Regions from separate parts of the Homo sapiens genome. Here region 2 is linked to region 1. Evidence: promoter capture Hi-C in 16 types of primary human blood cells and fetal thymus (Javierre and others, 2016). All regions are on one chromosome and are shown on one strand. Each heading gives the region's core, a stretch centred on a gene start or on the middle of the fragment in contact. The rest is flanking DNA. Distances are from core to core; before and after follow the strand shown. Region 1 holds the start of ZBTB7B (zinc finger and BTB domain containing 7B). Region 2 overlaps ADAR (adenosine deaminase RNA specific).

Region 1 (3,036 bases), core at 236-2,735:
AGGGGAAAGCGAGTCCGACCCGGTTCGGCCTGGCTTGTCGCAGGGGAGCCAAACCTGGCCCTAGGTAGCCGGATTTGATTCCATTTGACACTAGTGGGAGGGGCCCTTTGGGGTACGCAGCTCCGCAGGCTCAGTCAGAAACATCCTTCACCCGCTACCTTTCTCAGTTGGGGGACTCCTAAGTATTTATCCCGGTCCTCCCCAAAACCTACACATACCACACATCCCAAAACATCCAGGCACCCCTCGCCACCTGGGTCTCTCAGCGAATTCATGTCAAGCTATCCCTCCTCGGTGGAGACTCAGTTTCTCCACTTAGGGAACCCGCGGGATGGAGGTGGGGAGCAAAAGCGTCGGCGCGCCCCCTCCCCCTTCGCAGACTGGGCCCCTCCCCTCCGACAATGCCAAGGCCGCAGCGGGCACTGGCGACAGCACAGAGGCTGCTTGCCTGGGGCGCCCTTCCCTCCCCGCGGGGCACCGTCACGCGTGGGGAGGGACGCAGGGCGCCCGCAGGCTCAACTCCCCGGCTCCCTCCGAGAGGGGGTGGGGCGTAGGGGCCGGAGCCGAAGGCCTGGTGGCTCCCCCTCCCCCTCCCTTCTAGGTCCCTGACCTGATTACAGCCCCTCACGGGACCCCCTCCCTCAAGACCCTAAGTCCCCAATTCACCCCCACCCAGCCTATCCCTAACCTCTCATACCCTTCCCTCCTGAGGTCCTGACCCTACAGAAGCCCCTCTTGAAGGAGAGGGAGCCCCTGTAGGGGGTGCTCGATTCCCTGGCCGCTGCGGACACTGCCCCCTCCCCCCTCCTCTCCAGGTTCCAGGCCAGCCCCTCGGCTCCGCCCCCTCCCTGGACGAACGCAAGGCGAGACCTACTGGAGATGAGCGGGTATTCAGGCCAATGAGCGGACAGGGCGGTGGCGTGCAGGGGGCGGGCAGAGCAGCAGCAAAGGGCTGGATGGGGGCCGGGGGCGGAGTTTGAGTTAAGGTGGACTGGGAGAGATAGGGGCAGGAGAAAGGGGGGGGAGAGAGGGACCGCGGCAGGTGAAGGGAGACAGAGAGAAGGAAAGAAGGAGGGAAAGGAGGAGGGTGGGAAAGGCTAGGAGAGCTAAGTAAGAGTTTGGAGAAGGGGGCAAAAAAGGAGGGAGGGACCCATCTGCGCTCTGCAGGGACTGGCTGGACGAAGGGGTTGAAGTTTATGTCCTTATTGGGCGGAGGGAGGGGGCCTGGGGGGGCGGGTGAAAAACCAGGAAGTGACAGAGGGTGTTTCTAAGTGTTGGGGGGGGGGAGTTTGGGGGGTGGCAGGGGCGGGGGGAGGGAGGGGAGGGATGGGGGGAAAGCAAGCTGGAGGACAGGTGAGACAGCAGGACAGGTGAGGCGGGCCCTGAGGGGGGGGCGGGTGGGAGCCAGGTGAATGTACGGCTCTTGGCGGCCGAGGGGGGGCGGGCGGCAGGAGGAGGCAGAGGGCGGCGGAGGAGGAGCCCCCCAGCAGCGAGCGGCGAGCAACTGACCGCGGCCTTCTGACCAGGACCGGAGCAGGGCCCCAAGCCCCCGGGCCTGGTGGGGGACGCGCTTCTTCCCACACTGTGAGCCTCAGCAGCTCCAGCCAGCGGACCCGACGGCTGAGAGGTGAGTGTACCCCACTTTTGTCTCCTGGCTCGGGGTTCACTAGGCTCGAGACTACTGCAGTGTCCTTCGTCCGTCCTGTAAGTGGGACCCCCAGATACACACGCATGCAGATCACATTCCCACCACTCCCCTTCCCTGTGCTTTCCCAACACCCCGGGTCTCTGGAATTGGTTTTAACTGAGATGAAAGACAGAGAAGGAACTGCGGATGCCCCCCAACCCTAGGCGGAGGGTCCCCAGAAAGTTTATCTGCACTTCTCCTGGGATCAGACAGACAGACGGCTTCGGGATGGAGAGGGGGTGAGGCGACGCTGAGCGTTCCCCCAGTCTCCTTCGTGACTTTAGGGGGAGACCCCAGACCGGACTGAGTTGAGGGAATGGAAACGCTGACGGACTCTAACTAGGACAACGCGCACCCCCCCCCCACCCCGCGCCCCCTGGCGCGGTGGATTGGCCCCAGGCCAGTTGCATGGGGGTTGGGGGGGCGCAGGAGGAGCCGCGGCTTGGGGGAAAGTTACCGGCTGGACTATTCGGTTTCTTGCGCTTCCAGAGCCGCGCTCTCTCCAGCGGTAGTGGGGCTCAGCAACAACCTCTGAACCGACATAGAACGACCGCTCTCTTCCCTGCCCCTCAATCCCACTCCCTTCCTTCAGGCTCCAGTCCCGCCGCTACCTTTTCCACGCCAGCTCATGACCACAGAACCCAAGAGCGAGGGCGGGTGACTAGGAAGAATTCTCCTACCTACTACCCGTCCCCCCACCGGCGCCGGCGCACCTGCCCCAGCCCAGAGTGGGGGTCGCTACTGTGTTGTTGTAGAACCTACAGAGTGCGCCTGGCAGAAGGCTGCCATTCAAAGGGGTGGGGGGCGCTGCTTTCAATTTCCAGCTTTCTCTCCCTCCTCCCACCCCATCCCAAGTAAGAGAGCGACGTGTCCCGGCCAGAGCGAGGTGGGGGCGGGAGTGGGGGGGCGGCGTGGGCAGCGGGTTGTGCCCGGACACGTGCCTGCCCAGGCGCCCCGGCCCTGCTGGTGTTTAGAGAGAGGGCGGGTCCCCTGCCCCCCGCCCCGCACAACCCCCACGTATCAAAGGGCGGCTGAGACATGGTGAGACCTCGGGGCGCCCTGGGGGGCAGGGGGGCGGGGAGCCTGGGTCCGGAGCAGGGGAGGGGCAGAGGCGCCGGTGCTAGCTGACCCACAGGAAACGAGCGCTGCTGACCTAGTTTGGGACACCGGAAGTGGGTGCTGGGGAGAGGGGGAGACCGGCAGGCTGTCCAGGCTTCCGGGCCAGGTGGAGGGTGTTCTTGAATTGACCCCCGCCCGAATGCCTTGGAGACCCCTAGCTGCAGCCGAGAATGGGAATGAGTCAGCGCAGCTATTCCCCCTTCCCCCAACTTATTCCTGGAGGAGGGAGA
Region 2 (3,036 bases), core at 262-2,761, 400 kb before region 1:
GCGTCAGGAGCAAAAGCACCTGACCCCAACCCTAGGTACAGTTCCTGGGTGGTCTCTTACCGAGGTTCATGGGGTGGTCCACTCTGCTCTATCATGTTGAACTCACAGGTTTGACTAGCGAACTGGGCATATTCTAACAGCCCGCTGATGGGGTTCTTCAGCTGGCACTCTGTCAGTTTCTTGTAGGGTGAACACCGTGGCAAGCCATGACTGTAGAAGGAGGGCATCTCCATGATGGCTCGAAACTCACCTGGTGCTGCGCGGATACTATTCAAGTCATCTGGGATGTCATCTGTGGCCCACTGGCCATTTTCAAAGTCAACATACCCTGCTTTTGAGGGGCCATTGTAATGAACAGGTGGTTTCAGTCTTGCTGGTTCTGGTCTGGCCTCTTGCCTGTTTTCTAACTTTATGACAGGTTCCTGCCCATTCTCCACTTTTTCTGTGGTTACCATGTTATTTGAGGCATTTGATGTGGGTATATTACAGGTGAGGAACTCTGCGTTTCTTTTGGTCTCAGGGATTGCAGCTGGAGCGGTTTCAGGAACACTGTTCGTATTTCTCTTGATTTGCATCCTCTCTCGCTTCTTGTCTGTCAAATGCCATATGGGAGGGGTTGTCCCTTGTCTATAGACATCCCCCTGCCTTTCCATGTCAATTAGCACAGCATTTATATCTCGGGCCTTGGTAAGGCCAATATTTTTAGCCAAATTCAGGGCAGAGGAGTCAGACACATTGAAGAGATAGTCGCAGATTTTCTCCTTGATCTCGGCCATGTCTAAAAACTCAAGAGGATCTTCCAAGGCAGATGTGGAGTTGCTGTCTTCAGGTTCCAAACCTGGGTCTGAGTTTGGGGATCCTTGGCTATGACTGTCTGGTCTTACCACTCCGCTGTGCTGGTTCCAAGCCTGAGCTGAGACTGCAATAAAAGGCTCAAGAAGATCTTCTGAGACAGATGTGGAGTTTCTGTCTTCCGGTTCCAAACTCGGGTCTGAGTTTGGGGCTCCTTGGCTATGACCGTCTGGTCTTACCACTCCGCTGTGCTGGTTCCAAGCCTGAGTGGAGACCGCGATTTTCCACAAAGGGGGTGTTCCTGCCTCTTTCTGTAGCTTGCCCTTCTTTGCCAGGGAGTATAAAACTCGATTGATTTCTTTCTTCGGAGTCCCAAGTTTCCCAGACAGATCATGTGCTGTGGTGGCCTTCCCTTCCCCAAGCTCTTCCAGGAACTTTAAGATCCTTTGTTCCTGATCTTGGTAGATACTCAGTTCCTGGAAATGTGAGGAAAGGCAATCAACACCTCTCTGTGGCAGACTCCTGCCACGTGGTGAAGGATGCTGGAACCCTCTCTGGAGCCCCTGACTTCTGAGATGCACGCCCCTGGGGACACCCCTGATGTCCACTTGCCTGCCTCTGGTACTGGAGGCAAGTAGTACTGGAAACCTTGGCCGGAGTCCTGGGAGGGAAGGTGGCAGTGACGGTGTCTGCTTTCCAATCACCGGTGCTTCTGGGAGCTGCCCCTTGAGAAATTCTATTTGCTTAAGCAGGAAACTACTGGGGGAAGATCCTGGCCCAGGCTGCTGGTACCTGAGCTGTCTGTGCTCATAGCCTTGAAATGGATGGGTGTAGTATCCGCTGAGGGAATACCCCTGCAGAATAAGACAGTGGAAAAAGAAAATGAATTAGGGCTGCAGTGGTGAACCTGTGGAGGCCCCTCCCTTTGCTGCCTGTGGAACAGCCCTTGAAGGGCTGAGAAGGCAATTGAGCCATGGGCTTATGACTTGGCTAGGGTGACTTGCCTACCTCCTAAATCCTGCCTAGGGGCCTGCCAACAGGAACACAGAGAGGGGAGCAGGAGGCAAAGCACGCAGAACTTCCAGGAATACAGAGGTTCTGAGGCCTCAGCATAGCCTCTCCAGCAACCTAACTTACTTTTCCCTTTGACAGAATTTAAGGGAGTTGAGAAGGTAATTTTCTAGTTACCAAAACAATTACCCCTTTAAAATCAGAACAACAAATATATGTTATTGTTTTGAAAACAAAAACAGAATAACCTGAAATAACCAGAACAATCACATGAAATAACAATAACCAAGGGAGATGGGACTAGGGAAGGGACGAGATGACCTCTCCTTAAGTCAGGCTCACCAGTGCACCCCTTGCCCACCTGTCTCTAAGATCTATCGTTTAGATGACTATGACAAAAGAAGAAATGTGATTGGATGAAACTGAACCCCAGTCCTCCAAGGCTGTAACAGCGCAGTAACGAAAACAATCTCCAGGTGGGAAAAGGCCACGGGACCTCAGAGTCATCTCTGTGGCTCTTCACTGCCATCCCAGGAGGATCAGAATTTGGTCTTCAGGGAGCTGGAGGGTTTCCTGATAAAAATGGCACACTGTCCTCACTCTTCAGTGTGGTACCCAGGCTCAGAAGGGATGCCAGAGACTTTTGCCCAAACCACCCAGGCTCTCCTGGATGTGTGGAGCTGGCAGCATCTGCTCCTCACCACCTCAGACCAGTCCTACCTTCCCTAGCTACTTCCCCATAGCTGCTTCCACTGCACGTTCTTCTGAACCCTGACGGACAGGGCACAAGCAACCCCATGTTCTCATATGCACATTTACCAGAACACCAAGCACCTGTGACCCCTTTCCCCACCCACCCACCTGCAAACCAGTACTGTCTTCTCCCCAGGGCTGTTCACTGGAGGGTGATGGAGCCAGGAAGTACTTATAAGCCTGGGGGTGTCAGTAAACACCTTGCTTCCTTTCCCTGGGGCTTGTAGACTGGGAGGAGGGATTCTGACAACATTTACTCACACTCACCGCCCCCTCCTCAGACTCTCCTGGAGGCTGCACAGGTAGAGGTGGGACCCTTTCTTCCATAACTCTAGCCTTCTACTCTTCCACATCCTGACACACTTAGGGGATTTCAGCATTCTTGTCAATCACTCTCATGGTGTCCTGGCTACAAGGATCCTTAACCCAGTGATCTCCATCCCTACCTTTCTGCCACACAATTGGCTTGTCTAGCTACTC

What was found. The method cuts DNA at HindIII sites, captures the fragments that hold promoters and counts their contacts. A CHiCAGO score of 5 or more calls a contact.
Region 2: a contact is called between a fragment that was not itself captured here and the fragment with the promoter of ZBTB7B in region 1, in 1 of 17 cell types (naive B cells). The highest score is 5.1, in naive B cells.

What each region holds. Positions count from the first base shown.
Region 1 is chr1:155,001,317-155,004,352 of GRCh38, forward strand. ZBTB7B (zinc finger and BTB domain containing 7B) reads left to right here and starts at 1,486. Exons shown (of 3, transcript NM_001256455.2): 1 at 1,486-1,627. RefSeq lists silencers at 385-624, 735-924, 2,635-2,754. The HindIII fragment of the contact is 14,435 bases long and covers 1-3,036 here.
Region 2 is chr1:154,600,981-154,604,016 of GRCh38, forward strand. ADAR (adenosine deaminase RNA specific) reads right to left here. Exons shown (of 15, transcript NM_001111.5): 2 at 61-1,646. Among named protein-coding and RNA genes, the nearest start is that of ADAR, 5.7 kb to the right of the region's middle. The HindIII fragment of the contact is 3,398 bases long and covers 1-3,036 here.